Regions from separate parts of the Homo sapiens genome. Here all the other regions are linked to region 1. Evidence: promoter capture Hi-C in human tissues and cell types (Jung and others, 2019). All regions are on one chromosome and are shown on one strand. The core of a region is centred on a gene start or on the middle of the fragment in contact, and the rest is flanking DNA. Distances in the headings are between cores, read along the strand shown.

Evidence for each region. Contacts are between HindIII fragments. The study calls those that stand out against the background at their distance.
Region 2: a contact is called between a fragment that was not itself captured here and the fragment with the promoter of SNRPB in region 1, in 1 of the 25 tissues and cell types used here (bladder).
Region 3: a contact is called between a fragment that was not itself captured here and the fragment with the promoter of SNRPB in region 1, in 1 of the 25 tissues and cell types used here (spleen).
Region 4: a fragment that was not itself captured here is called in contact with the fragment with the promoter of SNRPB in region 1 in 1 of the 25 tissues and cell types used here (aorta).

What each region holds. Positions count from the first base shown.
Region 1 is chr20:2,469,431-2,472,130 of GRCh38, forward strand. SNRPB (small nuclear ribonucleoprotein polypeptides B and B1) reads right to left here and starts at 1,359. Exons shown (of 7, transcript NM_003091.4): 1 at 1,258-1,359. The coding sequence starts at 1,260. RefSeq lists enhancers at 979-1,098, 1,259-1,308, 1,319-1,368. The HindIII fragment of the contact is 7,557 bases long and covers 1-2,700 here.
Region 2 is chr20:1,251,398-1,254,097 of GRCh38, forward strand. The region is part of intron 13 of RAD21L1 (RAD21 cohesin complex component like 1); the gene reads left to right. Among named protein-coding and RNA genes, the nearest start is that of SNPH, 14 kb to the right of the region's middle. The HindIII fragment of the contact is 4,407 bases long and covers 1-2,700 here.
Region 3 is chr20:1,129,773-1,132,472 of GRCh38, forward strand. The region is part of intron 3 of PSMF1 (proteasome inhibitor subunit 1); the gene reads left to right. Among named protein-coding and RNA genes, the nearest start is that of PSMF1, 13 kb to the left of the region's middle. The HindIII fragment of the contact is 3,650 bases long and covers 1-2,700 here.
Region 4 is chr20:1,434,507-1,437,206 of GRCh38, forward strand. No RefSeq gene overlaps it. Among named protein-coding and RNA genes, the nearest start is that of NSFL1C, 31 kb to the right of the region's middle. The HindIII fragment of the contact is 5,217 bases long and covers 1-2,700 here.

The sequences.
Region 1 (2,700 bases), core at 109-2,608:
GCTGTAATCCCAGCACTTTGGGAGGCCAAGGTGGGTGGATTAACTGAGGTCAGGAGTTCGAGACCAGTCTGGCCAACATGGTGAAACCCCGTCTCTACTAAAAATACAAAAAATTAGCCAAGTGTGGTGGCGGGTACCTACAATCCCAGCTACTTGGGAGGCTGAGGCAGGAGAATCGCTTGAACCCGGGAGGTGGAGTTTGCAGTGAACCCTGATCGATCCACCGCACTCCAGCCTGGGCAACAAAAGCAAAACTCCGTCTCAAAAAAATAAAAATAAATTAAATTAAATCCTTCAATGACATGCCTCACCACCACTGAGGTAAAATTAACATGCAAGGCCTTTAGTAACTAGCCTCCTGCCAATTCTTCCCGTCTTCCCTTCTTTCTTCCTTTCTCCTCCAGCAACTTTTTCTCAGTCAACAAACGCAGAAAAATCCAGTAACTTTTTAAATCTTGTTACCCTTCAGCCTTTGTTCCTTCAGTTCTCCGGGTCTGTAATATTCCCCCCATTTTCGCCGGGAACATTCTTGCTAATCTTTTAGGAATCTGCTCAGGAACCATCTATTTGAGAAAACATTCTTACCCCGCCCCGCTGCCGTTACTTTTACCGAATGACCACACTGAATTATATTATGTGTCCCCAGCTACCTCTGTGAAGGAAGCAAACATATTTCAGAGAGTAGCCCCAGCGCCTGAGAAGTCAGGCACAGGCAAACACGGAAACGTGATGAGCAACTGAGTGGAGCTCTTCCTCCATTCGCCATCACCCTCCTCCGCCCTCCTCTCCATCCAGCAGACCTAGCGAGACTCTAGCGTGGTCCACGAGCCCCTTCCACCCACTTCCGCCAACTCTTTCTCAGACTCACAAACTTCCGCAAGTCTGAGCCTTTTACCGGGTCCCCCTGCGGCTCCAGTGCCTGCTCCGAAGCCCGGGACATATATTTATTCGGCAAAAGTTAACTTAGTGCCTACTGGGTCCCAGGAATTATGGCTACAGCGGTGTCGAGAGCCGCGGTTCTACCCTCGCCCCTGCCGAGCGACCTCGGCCTCCGACACCGGTTCCAACCTTTTCCTCGACCCCATGCCTAGCCGAACCGCCAAGGTCCTGGTCTTTCCCGCCCAGACCGAGCGGCCTCGGCCCAGGCCTTCACCGCCCTAAGTGGCTCCAACCCACGGCTTCCTCCCCGATCAGTCGCGGTTCCCACTCCACAACAGACTCGGAAGCTCCCGCGCCGCCAGCCTGTGCCCTCCTTACCATGGTGGCGGTTCTGATGGCTCTGATACCCGCCGGATTCGCCTCCTCAGAGGCCTAGCCTCTCTCCCACAGCCGATTTCCCGCCGCCGCTACCGGAAATGCAGCACCACGTAAAATGCGGTCGGGTAGAAACCTACTTCCGGTCCAGCTCACTAGCCCTGGAGTTCCGGCCCCGGAGCGGAGCTTCTGCCGAGCAGAGGCGGGGCCTGGGGACTGGGCGTTAACATCCGGCTTTGACGTAAGGAGAGCCTTAAGTTCCTGTTTGGACACCTTCCTAGCTTAAATCCGTACTGAGAGCTGCTCTGTGTCACACTCATTTCTCTTCACCCCGCCTTTCCCATTAACCTCTCGGTCCTCATTTCCCATCACCCTCCCCGGCTCTCTCCTCTACAGTCACTATTCTTGCTTTTCCCTCCACTGGCTGGACGTGCTCCTTTTTCAGCCCCTCTGCATTTGCTTTCGCCTCTGCCTGGAATGGTAGTCCCCAAGGTATACCAGAAGGCTGCTGCCCTCACCTCTTTCAAGGTTTAAGCTTAAATAACATTTTCCCAGTGAGGATTTCCCTAGCCATCCTGTAACCTTCCCACCCACCTCATCCTCATCTCTCCTGTATTTCCCTCTTGCTATCTAACACGCTGTATATTTTTGTTAGTTATTTTATTATCCCCTCCCCATTAGAATGTAAGATCCATAAGGGTGTGAATTTTTCTCTTTGTGTATTACTCATTGCTGTAGTGCCTAGAACACTTTAGCACAAAATAAGGGCTCTACCCATATTTGCTGATAATCGCATCCAGTCGTATGACATTTATTTTTTTTCTATGACTTTTTTTTTTCTTTTGAGACAGAGTCTCAGTCTGTCACCAAGGCTGGAGTGCAGTGGCACAATCTCGGCTCACTGCAACCTCTGCCTCCCCGGTTCAAGCGATTCTCCTGCCTCAGCCTCCCGAGTAGCTGGGAATACAGGCCTGTGCCACCACACTCGGCTAATTTTTGTATTTTTAGTAGAGACGGGGTTTTGCCATGTTGGCCAGGCTGGTCTCGAACTCCTGACCTCAACTCCTGGTCTCGAACTCCTGATCCACCCACTTTGGCCTCCCAAAGTGCTGGAATTACAGGCGTGAACCATCACACTGGGCCCTTCCTATGACTTTTAAATACAGCATATACACCCAAGGCTTTCAAGTTTGTTCCTCTAACCTTGGTCTCTTCATTTAACTCTTGGCCCTTTATATCCAGCTGCCAGCGTGATGTGAATGTCTAATAGGTATACCAAATTTAACATGTTGAAAACTGAATTCTTGATTCTATTCACTGTTTCTAAAACCACTTCACCAGTGTTCCCCATCCCCGAAGTTTCTTGGATTAAAAAAGAAAAAAAAGAAAATGACAAATTTGAAGCATATTTCATTCTTCTCTTTCTCTGCCATCGAATAATCAAAT
Region 2 (2,700 bases), core at 106-2,605, 1.2 Mb before region 1:
ACCATGTAGTGTGTTCTTTTATACAGAAATTTCATGTTCCTGAGTTTTAGAAAATTTTTAAAAATTTCTTGGACTTTCTCCTTATTATTGTTATTTTTTAAAGTTTTTCATAGAGTCAAGGTCCCACTGTGTTGCTCAGGCTGGTTTCAAACTCCTGGCCTCAGTTTCCTTTTTATTTATGTTTTGTCTTCCTGAAGGGCCAGTGGGTCAGATGTTGGATCTCCTGAACTACTCCTTTAATTTTAATAACATCTTTTATCCTCTATATTAATTTCTTTGTATTTGTGTTTTTCTACCCTCTAGATTTCTTCAACTTTGTCTTCTAGACTTTACTGAATTTTTATATCTGCTTTCACCTTTTTGTTTTCCAGGAGTTTTTTTTCTTGGTTACTAACTATTCTTTTATTTTATAGCATCATAATATTTTTATTTAATTATTCAATTAGGTTTCTAAAGCAGCTTTGTTGAGATATGATTAACATGCAGTAAACTATTTATATTTAAAGTATGCATTATATAAGTCTTGACATATGTGTACAACTGTAAAACCTTCACCACAATCAAGGAGTAAACATATATCAAACCAGAAAAACTTTCCTTGTGCCCCTTTTGAATCCCTCATTTGCATACCTCCAACTGGCACCCCCATTCCCAAGCAACCACTGATCTGCTTCCTCTCACTGTTATCCTAGCCATTTTTCATGGGTACAATGAAAAACTTCTTAACTTCAGAGGTTGCACTTCTGCTCCCTGCATTATCTTTCCTTAGTGATTTTCTTGAATGTATTCCTTTTTGCTCTTTAATATTAGAGATTTTACTCAAATGTCTTGTAGATCCTAGGATTATCTGCTTTTATTTAAGATAGAGACACCAAAAAACTGACTGGAAGTTATATACGCATGAGTAGGGGTTGTAGACTTATGGTCTTTATACTGAGGTAATTGGGTGGCACCTCTCACCTTCCCTAGATTGTATTATATAACTGGGTTTTGTTCTCCCTTAGAATAGTCATCTTTTCCAGAATAATCTTTAAGTCTACTGCCTAGGAGATATAAGCATGATGCCAGTGGCTCAGGAACCAAAAGGAGGTAAAGGAGAGGCTGGTTATCTCACTGTTCAGAGTGTAGAATTTCCCTTAATCCCACTGTTTGTGGTATGACACTTCACCATCCACAGCACTAGTGCCCTAAGTTCAAAGCCTCAATGCTTGTTATCTCCAGAAGGGCAACTTCACGCCTTCTGCTGTGTGAGTAGCGGTCTCCGCTACTGTTCCTAAGTAGATTCTCAAGGAATTCTCCTGTTTTCAGCTTCATCCCTCTCCCCAGTTTATGACACACTGATGTCTCCAATTCCTGAGCTTTTCCTAGGTACTGTGTCTCACTCAAATCAGCTTGCTTTTTGCTGGCTTCCCCCCTGCCAGCACTTAGGGTTCAGTTGTCTCTACTCTACTAAGTCAGTTATGTCTTCCACTTTCTTTGTCTTTATCTCCTTCGTCACTTTTTCTTCCTTTACCTTCATTTCAGAAGGGTTTCTGAAGGGAACACAAATAAACGCTTATGTTTAATCTTGCATATTTGTCCCTTTAGGGTTTTTCAAAATAATTCTTGAAATTGAAAAAACTGTCCTTATTCTCTCCCAGGGGGGAAAAGCCATCCAGTTCTCATCTTTTCTCTCAAGGCAGGGAATAAATGTAGGCTGGATATGCCATCTTTGAAAGGTTACTGAACCTGGGCCACGCCTTTGGTTAAGATAAAGTATGACAAAGTATTTAATTTATTAATTTGTTGACTGTTATGGACAAGCAAAACCTTGTATGTGGTATTTCTAAATAAGCTTCACAACTATCCAGCGTGTATGATTCTCATAGGGACATTGGCCAGTATTCACTGCAGTACTTCTTTTCTTTTTTTCTTTTTTTGTGACAGGGTATCACTGTCACCCAGGCCAGAGTGCAGTGGCATGATCTCGGCTCACTGCAACCTCATCCTCCTGGTTTCAAGCGATTCTTCTGCCTCAGCCTCCCGAATAGCTGGGATTAGAGGCGCGTGCCACCATGCCCAGCTAATTTTTGTATTTTTAGTACAGACAAGGTTTCACCATGTTTGCCAGACTGGTCTCGAACTCTTGACTGCAAGCGATCTGCCCTCCTCGGCCTCCCAAAGTGCTGGGATTACAGGCGTGAGCCACCACGCCTGGCCGCACTGCAGTATTTCTAACTAAAAAATTACACTTCTACTCTAGGACTCTGATTCCAAATCCTAGTCTTCATGAAAAGAGTTATCTTCATCCATAATTAAAATACTTTATTGTACCTCAGTTATTTTCAGTAGGTACACAGATGTCATGTGGTGAATCCGACATCTTTTTAATCTGTGCAAAGAAATTGGGAGTTGTTTACATAGTCATAATCCCCTGACACTGAAACTGGAGTTGTTTATAGTCAACACCAACACTATAGTACCTTTAAGTAGAAGAAGACTGATAGGCTGATCATTTTCATTGTATTTGAAGCCTCCCAAAGTCCTGTGGATTTTTTTGTCTCTGCAAATATAGACTAATTGCCCTTTCCACTGGAGCCATTTATGTTAACATCAATTTTAAAAAGGCCTATCATTTGTATAACACATTATAAATTTATATAACACTTCGGAATTCTTTTGCATGCATGTTCTTCACGAACCAAGCTTGTGTACAGTAAC
Region 3 (2,700 bases), core at 118-2,617, 1.3 Mb before region 1:
GACAGTTCTTCAAAAAATTACCGTATAATCCTGCATGTCCACTTCCGGGCATATACCCAAAAGAATTGAAAGTAGGTCTTGAAAAGATATTTGTACACCCATGTTCGTAGAAGCATTATTCACAGTAGCCAAAAGGTGAAAGCAGCTTGGCTGTCCATTGATAAGATGAATGGATGAACAAAATTTGGTATGTAAATACAGTAGAATATTATTCGGCTTTAAAAAGGAAGGAAATTCTGGCCCGTGCTACAACATGGATGAACCTTGAAGACATTATACTAAATTAAATAAGCCATTCACAAAAGGACAAATTCTGTGTGATTCTATTAAAAGTACCTAGATTAGTCAAATTTGTAGAGACAGACAGTGGATGGTGGTTGCCAGATACTGGGGCAAGAGGGGAATAGGAAGGGGAGTTAGTGATTAATGGGTACAGAGTTTGTTTTGCAAAATGAAAAGAGATCTGGAGATGGATGGTAGGTGATTGCACAACAGTGTTAATGTACTTAACAGTACTGAACACTTAAAAATGGTTAAGATGGTAAATTTTATGCATATTTTACCACAGTTAAAAGTCTTTAGGGAATACTCATTGCTGTTAGGATAAAGAGCACAATCCTTGATGAGGCCTTAAAGCATTCACCCCTTCAATCTCACCTTGTACTGCCTTCCCCGCATCCCTGTGCTTCAGCCACAGTGTCATTCTTCTGCCCTCTTCAGACCTCTTCCCTCTGTCTAAAGTGCTCTCCCTGACCTCACGTAGCCAACTCCTGTTTATCTTTTGGTTACCGATTTAAACGTCAGTTCCTTAGAGAAGCTTCCTCTGGCCCCCAGGCTTACAGCTTCAAAACATTTTAGTAAAATGTTTTTTTTGGAGTCAGGTTTCCCTCTGTTGCCCAGGCAGGCTGGAGTACAGTGGCACAATCAGCTCACTTATAAACAGGCCAAGCAGCCTCAACCTACTGGGCTCAAGTGACCCTCCCACCTGAGCCTCCCAAATAATTGGGTCTACAGGCATGTGCCACCATGCCCAGCCAGTTTTTTATTTTTTGTAGAGATGAGGTCTTTGCTGTGTTGCCCTGGATCAAAACATCATTTTTTAAGCATTTAATCCATCAGATATTTTACATTTACCTTCTTAGGGTTGGTCTTCCCTCCTTGCCTGTGATCTCCTTGAGGGCAGGGTTTGGGTGTCTTCTGCATGCAATAGACAAAGGGAGGGAAGGGGAAGTGAGCCAGGCCTGGCCGGCAGAATGCTGCGCCTCTGAGGAAAGGGGGAAGTGAGCCAGGCCTGGCCGGCAGAATGCCGCGCCTCTGGGTGTTGCACACTCCCTGACACCCTGGCCCCTCTTAGTGGGTAAGGGAGGGACATTTGGAGTGTGGTCTCTTGACTTCTTCACTCTGGACTTCCACTGGGAGAGAAATTGACAAAACCTGTGGAAGAACCTAGGAATTATACTGGCCATTCATGCTCATTAGAGCATTCCGTCTGTTCAGCAATACTGAAAGAGAATTGTGATCCTGTCTCTATTTGTTTTTTAAGTACATTTGTTTGAGGGGTTTGTGTGTGAGGGAGGGGATATGTGTTGTGTTTTGTTTTGTTTTTTGATTACTGTGAAATGAGGGACACAATAGTACTACCTCAGGGTTTTTCTGAGAATGGAATGAGATGTCAGCACATAGAGTGCTTAGCGCTTAGTCCAGCTCTTAGTAAAATACACAAAGGGGAAAAAAATGTGATCACCAGGAGTCATCTCCGTGGAAATGGGCGGTGAAAGCTGAGGTATGGCTCTGCCTCCTGATCAGAGGCCCTGTCTCCCTCCTATGCCTTTCAGCCATAGCTTCCTCCATGTAGCCCTCTTTATTAGGTCATTGTGGCATGTCTTGCCTCTTCCAGCAATTTGTGCTCCTCAGTGAGCAAACTGTGATTTGCTAAGAAATATAAACCTATTGTGTTCCATTCTGCTGTACCCTTTCTGTGTCGGATGAGATGGTAGGCTGTCTTTTGCCACAACCAAAATGGCAGTTGTTCTTTCAAGGCTTAGAAATTGTGTGAGAACTTCTCCTTCAGGACCTGGTGGTTTTTTAATCAGGCCTGAATTTTACACATGCCTAGGGAGATCAGAGGCCTCCCTCTGATCTGATTAAAAGGAAAGAAGACTTGAATTTACCCTCCCACCCAGCTTGGGCAGGCAAGCAGCTCATTTTTTACCCATGGATGTCCAATGGCCCCAACATCATTTGTTATTCCTTCATTGAATTACTTTTGAAACTTTGTCAAAAATCAGTTGTCTGTACATCTGTGGATCTATCTCTGGATCCCTTGTTCTTTTCCATTGATCTCTATGTCTCTTCCTCTGTCAATATTACTCTATCAGTATTGATTATTGTAGGCCTTAATATTGAGTAGAATAATTCCTCCCACTTTTTCTTCGTCAAGGTAGTTGTAGCTATTCTAGGTTCTGTGCCTTTTCTTTTTTTTCTTTTTTCTTTCTTTTTTTTTTTCTTTGTTTGAGACAGAGTCTCACTGTGTCTCAAAAAGGCTCAGGCTGGAGTGCAGTGGTGTGATCTTGGCTCACTTCAACCTCTGCCTCCGGGGTTCAAGTGATTCTCCTGCCTCAACCTTCTGAGTAGCTGGGACTACAGATGCGTGCCACCATGCCTGGCTAATTTTTTGTATTTTTAGTAGAGACGGGGTTT
Region 4 (2,700 bases), core at 185-2,684, 1.0 Mb before region 1:
CTAATGGTTGAACAGATAGACAGATTGTTGCACATTCATATCATGGACTATTACTTGGCAATGAAAAAACAATGAACTTTCCATAAGCACAACATATGAAAATTGTTCCTCCAGATGAATCTCAGAGGAATTATGCTAAGAGGCCAGTCTCCAAAGGTTAAATGCTGTATGCTTCCATTTACATGATGTTCTGGAAAAGACAAAACCACAATGATGAAGAAGAGATCAGTGGCTGTCAGGGATTGGGTTTGAGGGGTAGTGTGACTATCAAGGCATTGCATGAGGGAGGTTCTGGGATGATGGAATTGTTTTGTGTCCTGATTGTAGTGGTGGTTACATGAATCTATACGTGTGCTGAAATCTGTATAATTATATACAACATAGTTAATTTTACTGTATGATAATTTTAAAAATTAAATGAATTAGAAAATGGTTAACAGTTAATACTCACTCATATGGCCAAATGTATAACAACTCTTATGAGGCAGCAGTCTGGCAGAACTTATTTTCTGGTCACAACCCTGCTGACCAAAACAGGATGTGGTCTACACAAAGTGAAGAAACCGCAGGAACCAGCAGATGGTGAGGAAAGTGATCCCTAGCTGCCCTCATTGCTCATTAGCATATGACACTCCCACAAGCACCATGACAGTTTACAAATGTCATGGTAATTACCTGGAAGTTACCACCCCTTTCCTAGGAAGTTCTAAATAACCTGTCCCTCAGTTTGCATTGGCTTGCCCCTTAATTTGCATGTAATTAAAAATGGGTTTATGTGAGTATACAGTTGCCAGGAGCCCATATGTTGCTGACTGAAGTGCACTGCCTAGGAGTTATCCTTGCTCTACAAAGAGCAGTACTGTTCAACAAAAGATTGCCAATTCCACTGGCTTGTCCTTAAAAGCTAAGGACCCTTCTGGGATAAGCACCAATTTTGGGGCTCACCTATTCTGTATCAGTTATACTGACATACCCATTTTGCAGATGAAGAAAAGGAGGCCCAGAGGGGCTGTTGGGTTGCCCAGGGTCTCAGAGCTAATAAATGGCAGAGCTGAGAACCTGATTTGGGCAGTTTGCCCTCATGGTCATTATTCAAAATCTCTTCATTAACTGACTCAACTGGGGGGCACAAGGCCAAATTTTTCTGAGTTTTCAGGTAGCTGGTGATTGTTTTTGTTTAAGTCTCCTAGGATTTTTTTTTTTTTTTTACAAATTACATGTTTTTGTAATTTGTTACATGCTGTAATAAGAACTTTAAAAAAAGTAGATTTACAACAGCTGAATTTCCTAAAATACAGGGTGCTTGATCATAAGACTCTTCAAGAAAAAGATATTTTAGAACACTAATAAATACAATGCGAAAAAACTGTATTCTTATCTGGGTCCTTCTATCAGTGAAGCCAAAAGAGCTATTACAAGACAACTTAAAACTCATTCCAAAGATGAAGGCAGTTGTCTGTACAATGCAGTGCATCCCAGGCATCTCCAAAAGACAGTAATGAGAATCCAACCCGACAGTGAAGGGAGCCATGCCCATCAGGGAAGTTGGTGCAATTGGAAGGAAGGAAGGAAAGAAGAGGTGATCCAATCAGCATATTTTTTCTTTGAGAACATGAATAACAATATTCATCAATTTCTCATACCCACAAAAATGTTCTAAAAAAAACAGAGAAAGCAAGTTAGAAAATCCGCAACCATAGCAAGCAGTATCCTAAAGAAACATAATTATGTGCTCACATACCTGAAAAATGAACAGGTTATATTATATAGATTTTACCAACTCATCAAAGATTGGCCACATACGATGAAGACTTTGAATACCATCCTGAAGTAGGAATAACTAAAATTTGCATAGATGTTATGATCAGATCATTATGAATAAGATGCTAGTATTCATCATTCCAGGAAACCCTAAGCTGGAAACATTCAACATTCAAGCCTAAGTTGGATATTATTCAACACTTTATGCACAAGTAAATGTTAAGGGAGGCAATATGCAGAGTGATTAAGAGTACAAGCTCCGAAATAAACATACTAAGGTCAAATTTATCGCCAGGCACGGTGGCTCACACCTGTAATCCCGGCACTCTGGGAGGCCGAGGTGGGCGGATCACCTGAGGTCGGGAGTTTGAGACTAGCTTGGGCAACATGGCAAAACCCCATCTCTACTAAAAAATACAAAAATCAGCTGGGTGTGGTGGCACATGCCTGTAATCCCAACTACTCAGGAGGCTGAGGCTGGAGAACTGCCTGAACCTGGGAGATGGAGGTTGCAGTGAGCTGAGATCATGACACTGCACTCCAGCCTGGGTGACAGAATAAGACTCCGTCTCAAAAAAAAAAAAAAAAAAAAAAGAAAAAACTAAGGTAAATTTATCATAAAATTGTGGACTTGCACATGCTGGCTAGGTGGAATAGGCATGTTGCTTAACCTCTCTCACCCTCATATCTAAAATAGAATTAAAAATGGTACCTGTCTTATAGGGCTTGCCTGAGGATTAAATGGGATGATTCATGAGAAATATGTAGTTAATAATGTGGTACAGAAAAATACTCAATAAATAGTATTCATGGGCTGGGCGCGGTTGCTCATGCCTGTAATTTCAGCACTTTGGGGGGCTGAGGCGGGTGGACTACCTGAGGTCAGGACTTTGAGACCAGGCTGGCCAACATGGTGAAACCCCCTCTCTATTAAAAATA